Regions from separate parts of the Homo sapiens genome. Here regions 1, 2 and 3 are each linked to region 4. The links are contacts of gene promoters, found by promoter capture Hi-C in blood cells and fetal thymus (Javierre and others, 2016). All regions are on one chromosome and are shown on one strand. The core of a region is centred on a gene start or on the middle of the fragment in contact, and the rest is flanking DNA. Distances in the headings are between cores, read along the strand shown. Region 1 has its middle 250 kb from the start of LINC02740. Region 2 has its middle 300 kb from the start of LINC02740. Region 3 has its middle 19 kb from the start of API5. Region 4 holds the start of LRRC4C (leucine rich repeat containing 4C).

Region 1 (4,544 bases), core at 697-3,196, 1.0 Mb after region 4:
TCATCTGAAATTATTTCCCTAAACCTACTTACTGTTCTCTATGCATTCATTCTTACTCATTGCAATTTATTTTTTCCCCAGCATCTAGGAGTATTAAATAGCAAATCAGATAAGGTTTAAACCTTCCATTGGCTATCTACTGAACTACTTAGATTAAAACTTATAATTCCTTGGCATGGCTTACCAGGTCCTTTGATCTAGTACCTACCTAACCCCTCCAGTCCTTACCTAGTGTTTTTCCCTCAATTATTCTCCATGCTTAGCATTATTGGTCTTTATTCTATTTCTAAGACACGAGTTCCTTCTGTCCCACACAGGGATTTTACATTTATTATGCTCCTTGCCTGGAATGACTTTATCCTAAACATTTGCATAGGTGAGAACTTCTTGCTGACAGTGCTCAAGTCACATGCCACCTTCTCAATGGATCCCTCTAAAACAATCCAGTCTAATTCTATCTGCTAAGATTATGCCACATCACACTGTTTTCTTTCTTTAAAATAATTAGCACCATATAAATTTATATATTACTTTGCTTACTAATTGTTTGTTTCACTGTGCTAGAATATAAGCTTTAAGAACAGGGACCTTCATGTTGTCACCATCATTTATCAAATGCCTAGAAAGTACATAGCATATAGTAGGTCATCAACAGACATATGCTGGGTTAGTGAAAACGGACATGTAAGCAAGCACTAGACAGAAAAGCCTGGTATATTTCATGGTTATACTAATAAATAGGATGGATCCACAACCAATATTTGGTTTGGATGTTAGGACTGATGATACCACATCTTCACCAAAAGGATATTAAAATGTTTATTAATTACATAATGAGACTTTTGGGGGATAACAGGAAGGGCTTCCCAAGATAGTCTGAAAATGGCTTGAAAGATGATGTAAAGAGACTGGCTTGAGATTTTTATTATGGATACATATGGAACCACCACAGTGAGTATTTTGGCACATGGACAGGTGCTTACATGGTTTAAATCTGTCATTGCCAAAGGAGCAAACATCAAACATTTTTTATAAACTTGTCCAGATATAAGGAGGAGGGGACGATAGAGATGAACCTTAAACCCTGTTAAGCAGTCAAACATCCAAAAGTGAAGTCAGGAGATTTAGTACAGAATGCCATTCCAAAGGGTCCAGATTGTATAAAAGTTGTAAGTTGGAGATTCTTCTTTTTCTTTTTGTTTTGAGATGGAGTCTCACTGTGTCACCAGGCTGGAGTGCAGTGGCACAATCTCCGCTCACTGCAAGCTCCGCCTCCCTGGTCCAAGTTATTCCCCTGTCTCAGCCTCCCGAATAGCTGGGAGTACAGTTGCCTGCCACGACACCCAGCTAATTTTTGTATTTTTAGTAGAGATGAGGTTTCACCATGTTAGCCAGGATGGTCTCTATCTCTTGACCTTGTGATCCACCCACCTCAGCTCCCAAAGTGCTGGGATTACAGGCATGAGCCACCACACCCAGCCCTGGAGATTCTTGAAGCATGATAAAGTTTACCTTTTAGAAGGATTGATCTGCCTGCACTTTGGAGAAAATAATAGGGAGATGAGGTAGAAAATCAAGAGGACATGAGGAAGCCATTGTAATGACCTAGGTAAGAGACACTGGAAGCCCCAAAATAGAGATTCTTGAAGGCTATGAAGAGTTAGGGACAAACTTGAGAGGCATATAATTCTTAATGATAAACAATTGAATTGTCTTGACATCTTAACTAATTTGGATTCTGACAAACAACTACAACAAGTTCAACATTATTCACCAGCTACTTAAAGTAGTTTAAAGTGAAATGCCCCCTCAACATGAAAAATGCTGGGCTCCGTGGACCACTTTCGGAAATAAATCCTCCAAAGATTGCAATTGCATGAGAACACCAAGTAGGTCATGCCAAGGAAAAGATATGTTAAAGGCAAGTAGCCCATACTTCAAATGATATGTTGAGCAGACTCCAGATACTTACAAGACTGGAGGTTGTGTTGATATTTGAGTGTTCAGATCCTATGTCAAGCTCAGTTTCCTATTGACTTCAAATCTTAGGCTGTTCCACTGAGATATGCAACATTGTCCCTATACTTGCAATGGTAGATGAGGAGTTCTTGGAATCTTGACTCAAATATTCAGGATTCTGGCAAGGGAACTGGGCTCTGTCAGTTTTTTCATAGAGATATCCTTGCCTAAAGGGACAGAAACAAAGAAGTTTCCAAAATATTCTGTTTATTAGTAGGTTGTGCTGTTAATGAATAACTGTAGCTAAGCATCATATGCCTTGAGGACTGGGATTTGCAGCTTGTCCCTCCTACTTCACATCTACTGTTCAAAAGAGGTCCTCCCTTCTTCTGGACCATCCTTATAACACTCGTGTCCCTGTTGCCAAAAATCCTGCATGTGCTTTCAAGTGAGCTGACTGGTCCTCCTTATGCAGTCTTTCTCTTTACTGTAATGTCATTGTTGTATCATGGGCTTCTGTTGCCATGATGATAACAGTAAAGAATCAGTGTAGATTACTAGAAATCATATTTGCTTTTAAGGTGGTCCATATCTGGTTATGGCAAATTTACCCCTAATTATATACCTAAGGACCTATAAAGGAGAAACTCTCCCCACTGCTACTTCGTAGGACTAGCTCTTTTCTGGAAAATAAAGCAGAAGTCAGAGGAAAGAAGCACATAACCAGGAAGAAGTCAGTGGGAAGATACAGGTAGTAAATTTCATTCTCTTCTTATTAAATGTATTTTCCAGGAAATATTTTAAGTTACTTCACAGATCCATTAAATCTTCTTCTCATTTTCAACAGGAGAGATAGATACAAGTAATTTCACTATTCTGCCTTTTTGGCTTCTACCATAAAATGAGTCATTTGTATTAGAGCAGCAATTTCCAAACATTTTTAGGCCATGGACAGCTGCTGTTGAATGACTGTATTTTGAAAAATGGAAACTACTAAGATAACTTCATTTATTACATAATTTCGTTTTATATTTTTTATTAATCTAAATTGTACATGTACTCTCAAAATGAGAGCTTCTGATAAGCTAAATTGGGTTTTCTTTTTCTTACTTTTTTTAAACTACAAAAACTTAAAAGTTACAAAGGAAAATCACATATATACAAAATAACAATGAGTGTGTGTGTGTATAGCAAAAGTAACAAAAAATCATATAGTAGACGTATTAGTCCATTTTCACACTGCTATAGAAACTGCCCTAGACTGGGTAATTTATAAAGAAAAGAGGTTTAATTGACTCATAGTTCCAAATGGCTGGGGAGGCCATAGGAAACTTACATTCATGGCAGATGGTGAAGGGGAAACAAGCTTAGACATTCTCACATGGTGTCAGGAGAGAGAAGAGTGAGTAATGAAGAGGGAAGAGCCCCTTATAAAACCATCAGATCTCATGAGAACTCACTCACTATCATGAGAACAGCATGGGAGAAACCACCCCCATGGTCCAATCACCTCCCACCAGATCTCTCTCTAGACATGTAGGGATTACAGGGATTATAATTCAAGAGGAGATTTGGGTGGGGACAGAGCCAAACAATATCATTCTGCTCTGGCTCCTCCCAAATCTCATGTCCTCACATTTCAAAATTAATCATGCCTTCCCAGCAGTCCTCCAAAATCTTAATTCATTCCAGCATTAACCCAAAATACCAAGTCCAAAGTCTCATCTGACACATGTCAAGTTTCCAAAACCAATCATGTCTTCCCAACAATCCCCCAAAGTCTTAACTCTTTCCAGCATTAACTCAAAAGTCCAAGTCCAAAATCTCATCTGAGACAAGTAAAGTCTGTCTATTAATTTGTAATTTATTCTGATTGCCTATGAGCCTGTAAAATCAAAAGCAAGTTAGTTCCTTCCAAGATAAAATGGGGGTATGGGAATTAGGTAAATGCTCCCATTACAAATGGGAGAAATTGGCCAAAACAAAGGGGCTACATGCCCCCTGCAAGCCTGAAATCCAGCAGGGCAGTCATTAAAACTTAAGGCTCCTAAATGATCTCTCCTGACTCCATGTCTTAAATCCAGGTCATACTGATGCAACAGGTAGGTTTCCACAGTGTTGAGCAGCTCTGTCCCTGTGGCTTTTCGGGGTACAGTCTTCCTCCCAGCTGCTTTCATGGGCTGGCACTGAGTGTCTGTGGCTTTTCCAGGTGCACAGTGCAAGCTGTCAGTGGATCTGACATTCTGGGGTCTGGAGGACAGTGGCCCTCTTCTCATAGCTCCACTAATTAGTGCCTCAGTGGGGACTCTGTGTAAGGGCTCCAACCCCACATTTCCCTGCTGTACTGCATTAGCAGAGGTTCTCCATGAGGGTTCTACCCCTGCAGCAAACCTCTCTGGACATCAGGCATTTCCATACATCCTCTGAAATCTAGGTGGAGGTTCCCAAACATCAATTATTGACTTCTGTGTACCCACAGGCACACACCACATGGAAGCCATGAAGGCTTGGGGCTTGCACCCTCTGAAGCAATGGCCTGAGCTGTACAATGGTCCCTTTTAGCCAAGGCCGGGACACAGGGTGCC
Region 2 (4,472 bases), core at 1,542-4,041, 1.1 Mb after region 4:
TATCATTACTTATATTCTTATCTGCTTACCTCTAAATTATAGTTACCTGTATTACAAGCCTAATTCAATCATTGGTCCCTAAACACAAGGAAGGCAGTGGTTTTTTGCAATGTGTTTCCCAAGGCAGAAGTTATTCTGTCAGCAGCAGAAATGGTGATTGGATGATACGAAATTGTATTTCATTACTTGACTCAAAACATATATAGTAAAATCCTGTTAAACGTGCCTTATTGTGCCCAAGTTTTCCTTGCTCTAGATGCAAGGTGCTCCATCATACAGCTGTCATGATAACACCAAAAGGCTGTGGCAGAGTTATCTTATACATTCACACAATTCTTATAATAGGGGCTGCCAGCATTCTGAATGGAATGTAATAGATATTAATTTGCACACCCAGGTGTGAATATTGTGATTTCCTTTTACCACCTTCCAGCTTGGAAATAAATGAGCTTCTACTGTTTGTTGTTGCTCCTTTCCTCATTCCAGATGTTGTACCTTGCTTTTAGGTATGATAATTACACATCTAAAAGCTGAACACTCTTTGAATGCTATAAAAAAACCCACCAGATTGCATGAAAGTGTTTTTGTCAATAGGGAAAAAAATCTTACGCAGTTCATAAATATCATTAAATCAATGCAAGCTTTAAATTAGCTTTTTTCACCTGTTATACATATGTTTAATCACACATATGTGTATTTATAAACTATATACATAATGTTTTCTCACATCGATCATGAAATTTCATAAAGATCAACTTCTACTCCAAGAAAAGTTCCCAATAAGTTTAATGTCAATAAAAATATAATCGAAGCAGTATATTAAGGGGTGACAAGATATAATAGTTATTTCCAACTGATGTTTCCTGGCACACCATCAATCCACTCAGGGTTTCTAGCTAATGATCTTAGCAAATGTCTCAAGACTTCATGGAGCCCTGGCTCACCAGGCATAGTAGCAAGGATGCCAACATTGGCATCTTTGTTGAAGTAATTAATTGATTAATAAATGGTAACCAAGATTATACAGTCTGATGATGACTGATTTGACACATCAGTTAATCAGGGATGTGTCTTCATGCTGAATTAGCAATGGCAGCCACAAGAAAGGAGAAAAATAAGGGGTAAGAAGAAAGTATAGCAGCCAAGATGATAGCATCAAGGCCTTTGCTAAGAGTTAAAATGGAAACAAAAGGAGGTTTCTTTGGTTTTATTTTGTTGTTGTGGTCTAGTATCATTAAACAACTAATTTTGTCTGGGTTTCAGTTGTACGTTCATCTGACTCCCTTTTATGAAATTAGCAAAAGTCACTAAAAGAACAAAATAGATAGAAAATAAAATGCTGAAGTCAAATACACACATAAACACATGTAACATATGAAAACAAATATACATATACATATATATATGCATACATACATATATATAAAGTTCTCAAAATAGAGAAGGAAGCCTATATTAAACGAAGGATTTGGTCATGATATTACTAATTCATGTCATTTGACTACCATTTTCAAAGTATACACTGTGTTCTAGGAATTCTGCTAAGCCCTGGAGATTTAGCATGAAATATAAATTCCTTTGCCTTTGAGAGCCTCAGAATCTCATGAAGAACAGCAAGTAATCAGGGTTATACTGGAGATAAGTCTGGGATTCTGTAGGTGCCCACAAAAAAGTGGCATGACCTAAACTGTGGACGTAGGGAAGGCCTCTAAGAAGGGGTAGTGTTTAACAGACAGCCACTGAGAGCCAAATGGGAGTTAGGTGTTTCAACAAGGCAGGAGGCAAGCAAAGAAGGCACAATGTACAAGACAAAATAAAATGTACTGAGGAGACTAAAATAATTCTCATGGTTGATGGTGTGGTTTGGAAAAGTCTCTTTCACTTAGCTTTATGCATCAGTGTATAGACAATAGGGCTACAGTTAGATCTGAATCCAAATCCTCAATGCACCACCCAGTAGCTTATCACTTGGGGCAATATTACTTAACCTCCGTCAGCCTTAGCTTCCCTATGTGGAGAAAGACGATAAGAGTTGCACCCTTCTCATACGGCACAGACACATAGTAAATTCAAAAATCAATAAATTCAACCTTGAATATCATTAAGCATTATTACTATTATTGGGAATCATTGATCCATTTTTTTTGTCTATCCCTTAAAGAAAGATAATTTCTATTTGGCCCTCTCTCTATTTATTCCTGGAGAGAAACTGTCCGTGTCTTAGGGAAAGTAAGGCTCACTACAGACTGTCACAGAGACAGTAGAATGGCAAATTGTGCTACATCACCCTGGATCTGAGAATGGTCAAATCATTATACTTGTCTATTGCCCTTTCAGGTAACCCCTGAAGGTGCTCCATCCTATAGCTGTTGGGATGCTGGTCCTGATGTAGCTATTGGCATCTGCAAATGCTGAAGATCCAATAAACCTCCCGGTTCACTTCACTGCCTTAACTTCCACCTCAATGCCATGGCTCAGCAATCTCTAGCTAGATCCACACTTGTTCCATTATGACATGGTGATTTTAAATGCCTTCAAACTACACAGGAGGATAAAAAGCAAAGAAAAAGACTCTTCTTTTTCTAACCACAGATACCACTTTTATTTTTCCAGCTGCTGCAGCGAGAATTGATGATTGAAAGCCAATAAAGCTTCTATTGACTCAGAGTATAAGGGCCTTGATTTATCTCAACACTTGGCAGCAAAATAAAAACAACAAGAATAATACAGGTGTGTCCTTTGCTGTAAATAATATAGATTTACTATCTGCAAATTTCATAACCTTGATGCTGGAAACGTACTGACTCAAGTACGTCAGGCAACACTAGATGCTGGCAATCAATTGTTTACAGCGTTGACATTTTCTAGCATCTATTTTAAGATTGTGAAGTTTTAAACTGCTATTTTTCATTGCCCATACTGACATTTTCACCAAGCTTTCCTTAGCGAAGCTGGTACCTTGGCTTGTTAATCCAAGAAGCGCAGCTAGATCTTCAAAGTTTCTCAGGACTGTGTAAAGAGTAATGTATAAAACCATATCCCCCATCCTCCCTCAAAAAATTACCTGTTGTGAGAAGTCTAACTCTCAGAATTTGGGTCAAAAATTTGCTTCGTAATTTATTCTTGTGAGTGCTGCCAAGTCAGCTTATTGTTTATTTAAAAATAAAAAATAACTGGGCCGTTTTGTGTATGTAAATATAGGTTGAGATTTGGTTGGTTCAAGATGAGGAAATAATTGAAATTATTGCTTTCTTTATTGTCATATTCCAAGGCTTAGGGGCATACAAACTCTATAGTAAAAATGCACTAGACTTTCTGTAAGGTATTTAACAGATACCATCCTATGATTTTATTGTGAATTAAATAGAAAAAAATGAGAGAATTTAGAGTAACATGAAACCAAAGCTGGCCTGAATAGAGGCATCCCAGAAAAGTTCATGTATATCAAATTAGGTGAAGATTATCCTTGAAACAAAGGGACACTGGATTTAGAACTGTCTTGAAAATCAATTAAAACATAAAGAATTTGCTTACAAAATTGTGAATAATAACCTGGAATGAATAACTTAATAAGTTATATGACAAATCAAAATTTAAAATGGCCTTGGTGAAACTGAAATAGTATGCCAGAACTATAAAGGGCAAAGAAAGCAAAACAAAAATTAGTACATATTTATTTATGCACCTTATACAAATGATATATGATTTCATATATTAATAATCTAATAAATCAGGCAACATTATTCTCTTTTTACAGATCAAGAAACAAAGGCCTAAAAAAGCTCAGTTAATTTATCAGTATTGGATAGCTAGTGAATGGCAAAGACAAAATTCAAAGCCAATCATTGTTTTACTATATAATATTTTCCATATATATTAAAATAAGCATAAAATCCTGAATAGAGGTTCAAAAACTAAGACAGTTATGGAATATATTTAAAATATATTTGTTTTGGAAAAAAAGATTAAGGATTATTTGAACTTCAAAATAAGTAACAAATATAGTGTATCACTATTGCCAAAATAGTAATCATAGATGAAATAATATGAATTCATATGGTCACAAGAAGTAAAGTGCTAATCCCATTTTACCTTGAGCTGGTCATACTAATCTGCAGTATTTAATTCTGTTTTAAGCAATGCATTTTAAGGAGATTTATAACCATGAGCATGTCTTTAGAAGCAGAAAAACAGGGTGATCTGAAAACCATGGCATTTATTATTATACTTATCACTATTATCATTATTGTTGCCATCAACCTTATTACTGTATTTTCAAATTCTAGCATTTATTTAGTGCTTATTATATACTGGCTACCAGTCTGAACACTTTGCACATGTTACTTCATCTGATTCAAGCACCAGTTTACCCTCCCTTGTATCCTATTCTCACATTTTTACTCCAGCTCTTACCATAACAAACAGCTGCATGCAGGTACAACCTCTTGATAGTACCTCATCTCAGGCTCATC
Region 3 (4,633 bases), core at 1,567-4,066, 1.8 Mb after region 4:
TGGTGCAGTGACTCACGCCTGTAATCCCAGCACTCTGGGAGGCTGAGGCGGGTGGATCACCTGAGGTCAGGAGTTTGAGACCAGCCTGGCCAATATGGTGTAACCCCATTGCTACAAAAAATACAAAAATTAGCTGGGCATGGTGGCAGGTGCCTGCAATCCCAGCTACTTAGGAGGCTGAGGCAGGAGAATCACTTGAACCTGGGAGGCAGAGGTTGCAGTGAGCCAAGATCGCACCACTGCACTCCAGCAATGGTGACAAGAGAGAAACTCCATCTCAAAAAAAAAAAGAAAAAAAGGACAATTTGGTTTTCTTTTCACATAACGAAAGTCTAGTGTGGACAGTTCCAGTACTTTGTACTTTGTAGGAAACAAGGGAAAGCTTCCCCTTTGCCCACAAAAGTTTCACTGAAAATGAACTGACAAAAGGCAGAATAACAGGAGAAAAAGGCATACAAAATTTATTTAACATGCATAAGCACAAAGCCATACACAAAGTATGATACTCAAAGAGAGACCAGATGATTGAGGTTTAAATACTCTCTTCCTAGGAGAGAAGTGTATGGACCTGGGAGACAGATATTATCTTGTAAGTGATTCTCTTATGGAAGCTGAATGGGACAAGTTACAGGGAGGTGAGGGCCAGAACTGCACAGGAACAAAGGTTGCTTTATTATGCAGATAAAGTCCCCAGGTAGTCTCCAGAGCTACCCTCAGAACAGATGAAAAGTCTGTCTGGATGCAGTGACAACTCCTAATCTCTTCTCTCCTCCAGTGGTTGATCTTTTCCTGGTTATTTGATGACATTCCTATTGAGGAAGTAAGAACAATTGTGTTCGTTTGGAAAGATGCTTTCATAGATAAGAAAATTCTAGAAAGAGTCCCTTCCAGTGCTTCTTTGGGAAAGAGAATCAGAGACAGGGAGGGAGTAGAAGATACGAGAGAGACCTTGGTTCTGAGGCCTTTCAATTCTCAAAGCACTCAGTACATCAAAGTGCCACATTTGGGGGAATCATATTCTGTGCCCCAACAATTTGTCTTCCAACCATTAGTCTTGACTCTTGGTCTTCCCTCTACAGTCACAATATGGCTTCCACAGCTCCTAAAATTGTATCCCCATACAACCACATTCAAAGGTTGGGAGAAATAGGAAGTTACCTCTTGATCAGGATTAAAAATATTTCTCTTAATAGTCATGAATTATCTTCTGGTTTCATGGGTCAGGGTAAATCATATGCCCAAGGCTTGGCAAGAGAGGCTAGAAAAATGAAGAACTGGCATATGCAGTAAGAGGCAGGTTCTGCCACATAGGAAAGTGGCCATCATATGCAGCCAAAAGTGCTAGTCCCAGGAGGCTACTCAGAGAGAGACGGCAGTGTTTTGGCCGCCATCTTGGCATCTTCTCCAGAAACAGCAAACACACACACATAGAGAAGTTGCCCAGAAATATTAAGTCTGTGAATCAAAACTCAAAGAGAAAGAAAGTCTTTACTTCAGATTTTAAAAATAAAATAAAAAGTCTTCTTGGAACAACCCTTTGACAGGACAGGAAAGTAGTAAATCTTTCTAAAGAGCAATTTGGCACCATGATCCAAAAGCCTTGAAGAATGAGCTTATCTTTTCTCTTAAGTAATTCCACTTATAGTAATCTATCATAAAGAAATAATCAGAGATGTAATGCAAGAAGTATGTGCAAAGATGCCCATCAAGCATTGTTGATAATAGTGAAAAACAGAACAACCTAAATGCTTAATAACACTTGAATGATTAAATAAATTATAACAAAATGGCATTCAATGTAGCTATGTGAAAACTATATTTAGAGGATTCTGGTTCAAGATGGCTGACTACAGACATTGGACACTCACCCTCTCCAGAATGAAGAACCAAAATTATGAATAATCACACCTCTAATAGGACATCCAGGAGAGAACTCCAGAGTCCAACAGAGAAGTTACAGGAAACACCTGAGGCACAGAAGGAGAAAGAAGTGAGCAACCAGCTCAGCTGAGATCAACATAGACTGGCTACATGGATAAAACATAATCCAACCATATGCTGCCTGTAAGAAATACACATTACCTATAAAGACACATATAGACTGGAAGTAGAGGGATGAAAAAAGATATTCCATGCAAATGGAAACCAAAAATGAGCAGCAGTAGCTATACTTATATCAGATTTTAAAAGACTTTAAGCCAAAAACAGCATAGAAAGAAATAAAGAAGGTCATTATTTAATGATAAAGGGATGAATCTAGCAAGAGGCTATAACAATTATAAATATATATGCACCCAACACTGGAGTGCTCAGATTCATAAAGAAAATATCAGTAGATCTAAAGAAAGAAATAGCAATACAATAATAGTGAGGGACCTCAACACCTCATTCTCAGCATTACATAGATCATTCAGACAGGGAAAAAAATTGGACTTAAACTGGACTTTAGACCAAATGAACCTAACAGGCAGACATGTACAGAACATTTTATCCAACAACTGCAGAATATACATTCTTCTCATGAACATATAGAACTTTCTCCAGGAGTGACTATATACTATGCCACAAAAGAAGTCTCAACAAATTTTTAAAAATCAAAATGATATCAAGTATATTCTCAGACTACAATAGAGTAAAACTAGAAATGAATACCAACAGGAACTTTGGAAACTATACATATACCTAGAAATTAAACAATATGCTCCTGAATGATCATTGGGTCAATGAAGAAATTAAGATGAAAATAAAAAAATTTCTTGAAACAAATTAAAATGGGAATACAACATACCAAATCTGTGGGACATAGCAAAAGCCATGCTAAGCAAGAAATTTATAGCAATAAACACCTACATAAAAGGAAAAAAAAACAGAAATATTTCAAATAAACCATCGAATGATAATACACCACAAAGAACTAGAAAAGCAAGAACAAACCAAACCCAAAATTGATAGAAGGAAAGAAATAACAAGGATCAGAGCAGAACTAAATAGAGACTAAAAAACAGTACAAAGGAACAATAAAATTTAAAGCTGGTTCTTCTAAAAGATCATAAAATTGATAAACCACTAACTAGACTAACCAAGAAAAAAAACAAATAAAACAAATAAGACATGAAAAAGGAGACATTTCAACTGATACCACAGAAGTACAAAAAAAGTCAGAGTATTATGAACAACTGTACACTGACAAAGTGGAAAATCTAAGGGAAATGGATAAATTCCTAAAAACATACAACCTACCAAGATTTAATCAGGAATAAAGAGAAAACCTGAACAGACCAATAACCAGCAGCAAGATGGAATAAGTAATAAAAAGTCTCCCAACAAAGAAAATCCCAGGAGTGGATGGATTCACTGCATAATACTACCAAATGCACAAAAAAGAACTAATACCAATTCTTTTTTAACTATTCCAAAAAATTAAAGATGGAATGCTCCCTGACTCATTCTACAAAGCCAGCATTAACCTGATGTCAAAACCAGACAAGAACACACACACACAAAAAGAAAACTATCAGCCAATATCTCTGATGAATATAAATGCAAAAATCCTCAGCAAAATACTAGGAAATGAAATCCAACAACATGTCAAAAAGATCATATTCCATGATCAAGTGGGATTTATATAATGGTTGCAAGGATGGTTCAAAATACACAAATCAATAAACATAATACATTGCATCAACAAAATAAATGACAAAAAACGCATGATAATCTCAGTAAATGCAGAAAAGCGTTTGACAAAATTCAACACCTCTTCATGATAAAAACTCTAAGCAAACTAGGCATAGAAGGACCATACCTTAAAATAGTAAATGAAATATATGACAAACCCACAGCTAACATCATACTTAACGGGAATTTGTTGAAAGCCTTTTCCATAAGAACTGGAACAAGGCAAGGATGCCTACTTTGACCACTCATATTTCACATAGTACTGGAAATCCTAGCCAGAGAAATCAGGCAAGAAAAAGAAATAAAAGGCATCCAAATTGGAATAGAGGGATTCAAATTGTTCCCTTTTGGCCAGACGCAGTGGTCCACGCCTGTAATCCCAGCACTTTGGGGGACCGAGGCTGGTGGATCACAAGATCAGAAGATCAAGACCATCCTGGCTAACACGGAGAAACCCTGTCTCCACTAAAAATACAAAAAATTAGCCAGGCACTGTGGCAGGTGCCTATAGTCCCAGCTACTCGGGAGGCTGAGGCAGGAGAATGGCATGAACCCAGGAGGTGGAGCTTGCAGTGAGCCGAGATTGTGCCACTGCACTCCAGCCTGGACAACAGAGCAAGACTCTGTCTCAAAAAAAAAAAAGTTCCTTTTTGCAGATGCACGATCTTCTATCTAGAAAAACATAAAAGATTTCACCAGAAAACTTTTAGAACTGATAAATTCAATAAATTTGCAGTATACAAAATGAACATACAAAAATCATAAGCATTTTATACATCAGTAATGAAAAGACAAAAAAGTCAAGAAGGCAATCCCATTTAAAATAGCTAACAAAAAAAAGTACCTGGGAATATATTTAACCAAGGAGATGAAAGATCTCTACTAGGAAAACTACAAAACTCTGATGAAGGGAATTGAAAAGAATACAAACAAGTGGGAAAACATCCCATGCTCATGG
Region 4 (5,016 bases), core at 2,296-4,795:
CATACAAATAGCATTTGTCATCAGAGAGTGTATCTTCTTCTTCCAAGATCCTTCATTTTCTGTTGTAGGCTGATGCTCTTAGCCTATTCTTATTAGCCACAGTTTCAGCATCAGCTCAGCTCTTTGAGCTAACATACAGCTCTAGGCTGTTGTAATGACTCAGCAATCAAAATTTCAAGTTCAATCCACCTGATCCTTACCCACCTCCAGGGCCAGAGCTCCAAAAGCTCCTCTCTGCTCTTAAACTTCTTACTAGGTGATGTTCCTGGCTTTTTTTTTTTAAAGGTTCTCAGTAGCTGACTTTCCAGCTGTCAACCCTGTTTGTTACAGAGGGAAAGAGCTATTCATGTGTTAAGTACCCTGGGTCTTAAAAACACAGAAACACACTGGAGAATGTTGGGCCTCCTTGTCTGACTTTAGCAGAGTCCCAGAGAAAGGCCTGACAAATGGAGAAGAAACGGAATGTCCTTTATTCTCCCCAATAAACTCAGAGAAACCCTTCACCAATTCATTCTTTTAAAAATATAACTCTGCATATGTTGCTTCTAGGGAACTTTAGCCTTTTCTTTAGCAGCTGTGACAAGTTACTCCTACTGAAATGGAAAGCTCCCTACCCCCATTTACCTTTCTTTTCTGAATTCTCTAAGCAATGAAACAAACCCTGGTAAACGTCAAAACCCTCTCTACCACAAAATAAAACTGAAAAAGGCATGGATCTGGAGTTGGTTCTGATCAAAAGCTGTTTATCATTGCTCTGGCCTGAGCTGAAAATACAGATGCAAAGTTACAGTTGTGCAAACACCATCAGGAACCCTTGAGATATGGGAGAAATGCTTTGCACATTTCATAAGCTGTAATCAGAAAATCCTGAGTTGGCCCCCACTTCTATTACTAGCCTAAAATAAGTGATCATGAAAGTGTTGCTATCGCTAAAAGATTCACTCATTACAATTATTAAATCTTTAATACACAAAAACCAAGTTGGTATCTTTTGTTGTTGTTGTTGTTTTGTTTTGAGGTAGTATTGAGAATAATCTATGCAATTAATTTTTACCAACACCACACATCTAAATATACCAGTATTTGGTGAGAATATGAATGGGAAAACAGTCAACATTAAATAGCCTCAATGGAGAGAGGTACTAATTTGCCAAATTCCAGAACGACATTTTTAAAGGACCTCTCTCTATTCAGAACAGTCCTAACACTAAATAGATGACCTAAAATGCTGTCCTCTATACCTGGGACTAGTTGCCAAAAGAAACAGGTTAATAAAGGGCTGACCAACTTAAGGAATGCTGATTGTCCAGGCAGAGCTTGGAGAGCCTCCAATACCCTGCCATGACCCATTGGCACTTGGAGTATCAGGATCCTTCTCCTTACAACAGAAACTTCGTGTTTCTTATTCATATATTATTCTCACTTTCAGGTTTTATGAACCTCAGATTGTTTTTTCCATAAAGAAAATAAAATTTTGTTTAGGGTTTCTCCTAGGCTCAAGCCATTTAAAAATTAAAAAAAGAAAACAACAGACCTCCTTTCTAGATAAGAAAAATTTACCTGGACATTACGGGTAACAGATAAAAATATCATGATCATAAATCATTGACATGAAAGACATATTATAAATTATACTGACAGGAGTCTTCCCATGGTAATTTTTACCAAGAGCTCTGCCTGGAGTACCAGGTACAAGGTTGCTCCAGGGGTGGAGGAGGGGCAGCTTCTCACAGTTGTCCTCTTTTACCTACTTCTCTAAAATCATCATGCAAAAAATATTAGATAGATGAAAGGCTAGGATAGCCTAGGGTAATACCAGAGTATAATCTCTTCTTTAAGTTTTTTGTTTGTTTGTTTGTTTGCTTGTTTTCTTTTTGTAACTCCTTTTTTTAAAAACAAATATATATATATAATCAACGTTTTGAGTATGATGCCTGACATCTCTCAACTTGGGTGCTCTCATAAATCTTTGACCCAGGCAACGTAGCCTCTGAATAAATCTATTATGTTACAATTTGCATCTTCTTTCTATACATAGACATCAACAGCTGGAGAGAATCACTTAGGTATGCTCTTCTCTACCTAGTTAACACACCTGTCATCTCTTCCATGAACGTGTCCACAGTAACAGTTCAAGTTGGCTAACAGTCCATGAACTAACACTATTCTCTTAAGGATAAACCATCCACATGCACTGGCAGATGAAGAGTAAGATTCTGTTGCCTTCATGTGAGGTCTCAGCATTTTAGAAACCTATTTACAAGTGATTCTTACTCCTGGGGTGAAGCTAATTGATGCCAATGCAGAGATAAAAATACTAAAAGACACAGGAACACAGACGTTATCACAATGAAATGATATTTTGCTTTAATTAAATAACTTTGGGATTGAAACAGGTAAAATATTGTCTGCGTTTCACTTTGAAGGAAAAGCGTGGTGGGGGGGAGGGGGGCGGGTGAAGAAAGGCACAGTTAACTACCAGGAAACTAAAGAGACTGAGTTAGGCAAGATGTTTGACTAAAGTCACCTGAATTCCTCATGCCACTTGCTTTTACAGCCAAGAATAGACAATTAAGAGCAATTTTCAAGCACATTCCCTTCTCGGGGGACCATGTAGGGTAAGAGGATGTTCCAAAATGAGCGACACTAGTCTTAATCAGGGGACACTGCATTCCAAAAGGTTAATGAGATGCAATAGCGAGAGAATCAGTGCAAAAAGAGAGAGGTTCAAAATACTAAACAATTTCCACTTTGTTCTCATTTGCTCCAATTAAGAGCTGGTGAAGCAGCTTTTCTGTATTCCACGCATTCGCTACTCTCTAGAGCAGATATAACTATTCAAGAAGAAAAAAATAGAGCTATGGGGAGGGGGAAGTCTACTATTAAGTTATCGTGAAAGTCCGGATTACATCCCCACCTCCCCAGCCCCCAGTCTCTGAGCAGATACACTTTGCCTCTAACTCAGAGCCTCTGCCAGTCGCTTTTCTGATTAATGTTTTTCCTCAAATTTAGAGAGTATTGCAAGGCAGGAGAAAGGCGGAATTATTTTTTTCCATATTTCATATATTCAGAATTCCCTGTGAAAATGTTAGATAAACAAGAGAGGTACAAAAATGGTAAGAGGAATGGGGGGATGGTTATACAAATGGAAATAACCTCCTTGGCATAAAAAATAGCCCCAAAATGCCACACACTGAGTTCTTCTGAGCATTCCAATCTCTAAAAATGAGCATATAAACTGCATATACATTTCCGAAAACAAGCAGGAAAACACAAACATTGCAAGACAACAAGAACTGAGATCTGAGGAGTCCCGTGACTTACCTTCTTTATGGATCCTCAAAGTTCACCAAGGAAAATTTACAATCCTCTAGCTTGCCGTGCACTACTCTATTTTCTTTTCTTCTTTTTATTTTTTTTTAAGTCATATCGGAGAAAAATAATCAGTTTTCAAAGGTTCCATGTATCTGATCTTCCAGCACCAGCAAAAACGTGTCCAAGAGACTCCGCCAAAAAGTAAGCCAAAAACTCATCAAAGGCAAAAGCAGAAGGGGGAGTAGGGAAGCAAGGAGGTGGCGAAAGGCGGGGGGTGGGGGCTACAGACAGTGAGCCCAAGTGCCTAGAGAATATTGTCACGTTGTTGAAATCTCCTACTGTACGAAATACCTGCTTTGGTTGTCACACTAACACATACACACACACGGACACTCACACATTCTCTTTCATGCAAAGCAGGCACCCACACTCACAAACACACACAAACACACGCACTCACACAAACCAGTGTAATGAAAACTGTCAGTAGTAACCTCCAAGAGCTGCTGTGTGCTGCAGATGGTACGGCTCGCTGTTACCTTCCCAGATCTGTGAAGGATCAAATGAACATCCAAAATCAGGGGGGCCCCAGGACTAGGTAGATTCCGGATCCCTCTCCCCCAGGCAGATGCATCAAGCCAGTAGCAGGTCAATCAGCAGAGGTGTCTGCTTGCAGGGTGCCCCGGATTATGGCAAGGTTATTAATCTCGAAGTGCTGCATCCCCCCACCCCCAACATTCGGCAGCCTGCATTGAGATGATTGCCAGAGCTGTGTCTGTCCCTGTTCTACTGCATTTGCTCAGCCCTCTGATGCTGCAAGTGAGACACGGTGGAGGCAAGAATACTAATAAGGTGGTTAGCTACAGTTTCTTCAAGGCAGTCGGCATGCAGTACAGTAAATGTGTACTTCCCAGTGCTCCGTGTGTGAGCCTGCGTGTCTGCAGGGAGGGCAGTGAATCCATCTCCGGCCAGAAGACGAAATGTTTTGTATCCTGCCTGGGAGAACTATATCATCATCGGAATCATCACTGTCCTGCAACGGCGTTGTCTGTGACAGTATTTTGCTTGGGATAAAGAAGGGGGGTTAATGGTTTAGAAGCCTAGAACTGGCATTTAAAAGAGAAAAAAAAAAAATGTCTGGGGAGACAAATTAGCTTTATAAATAGGATCCAAGGAGACCGAGGAAAATTTTAACATGCTGCTTCCCTGGCTGTTAAATGGAAATACAAAGCAATTTCAAAAACCAGCTCCAGACTATAAAGCTTGGAGCTGGCAACAAGTATCTGAATTTGACTGATGGGACTATAGATAAATGGATTCCTGGTAATATAAAAAGTTTGCTCATGCATTCTGCTTCACAGCCATGGATCCGATGTATATAGCAATTTAGGTACAGTTCATTCATTTTTAAACATGAATTTAGACTTGACACCTGCACAGTTTTACTTTAATGTACACTTTTAAATCACATAGCTATGAAATTGTAGAGAACATCTGTGTGGGACAGTGTCACTAGAGGGATTGGTTGACAATTGTCCATCGTAAGCATTATAATATATAACATTTTTGCCTGAAACGAGCTTAAAGTTTTCAGAAAAAAAGTATACATCTCTTTTAGTACCAAGCAATGAAATTAAAATACATGTGTAATATGCTAAATAAGTTATCAGCCTCTAGAGGGCTAAATTTTCTGCTTCTATG

The links. Contacts are between HindIII fragments. The CHiCAGO score rates a contact against its expected background, and 5 or more counts as called.
Region 1: a fragment that was not itself captured here is called in contact with the fragment with the promoter of LRRC4C in region 4 in 3 of 17 cell types (M2 macrophages, megakaryocytes and M0 macrophages); the score reaches 11.5 in M2 macrophages.
Region 2: a contact is called between a fragment that was not itself captured here and the fragment with the promoter of LRRC4C in region 4, in 1 of 17 cell types (M2 macrophages). The highest score is 7.5, in M2 macrophages.
Region 3: a fragment that was not itself captured here is called in contact with the fragment with the promoter of LRRC4C in region 4 in 1 of 17 cell types (M2 macrophages); the score reaches 7.3 in M2 macrophages.

What each region holds. Positions count from the first base shown.
Region 1 is chr11:42,499,487-42,504,030 of GRCh38, forward strand. No RefSeq gene overlaps it. Among named protein-coding and RNA genes, the nearest start is that of LINC02740, 250 kb to the left of the region's middle. The HindIII fragment of the contact is 2,753 bases long and covers 571-3,323 here.
Region 2 is chr11:42,547,415-42,551,886 of GRCh38, forward strand. No RefSeq gene overlaps it. Among named protein-coding and RNA genes, the nearest start is that of LINC02740, 300 kb to the left of the region's middle. The HindIII fragment of the contact is 285 bases long and covers 2,650-2,934 here.
Region 3 is chr11:43,290,304-43,294,936 of GRCh38, forward strand. No RefSeq gene overlaps it. Among named protein-coding and RNA genes, the nearest start is that of API5, 19 kb to the right of the region's middle. The HindIII fragment of the contact is 4,872 bases long and covers 381-4,633 here.
Region 4 is chr11:41,456,107-41,461,122 of GRCh38, forward strand. LRRC4C (leucine rich repeat containing 4C) reads right to left here and starts at 3,546. Exons shown (of 7, transcript NM_001258419.2): 1 at 3,325-3,546. The HindIII fragment of the contact is 6,701 bases long and covers 1-4,575 here.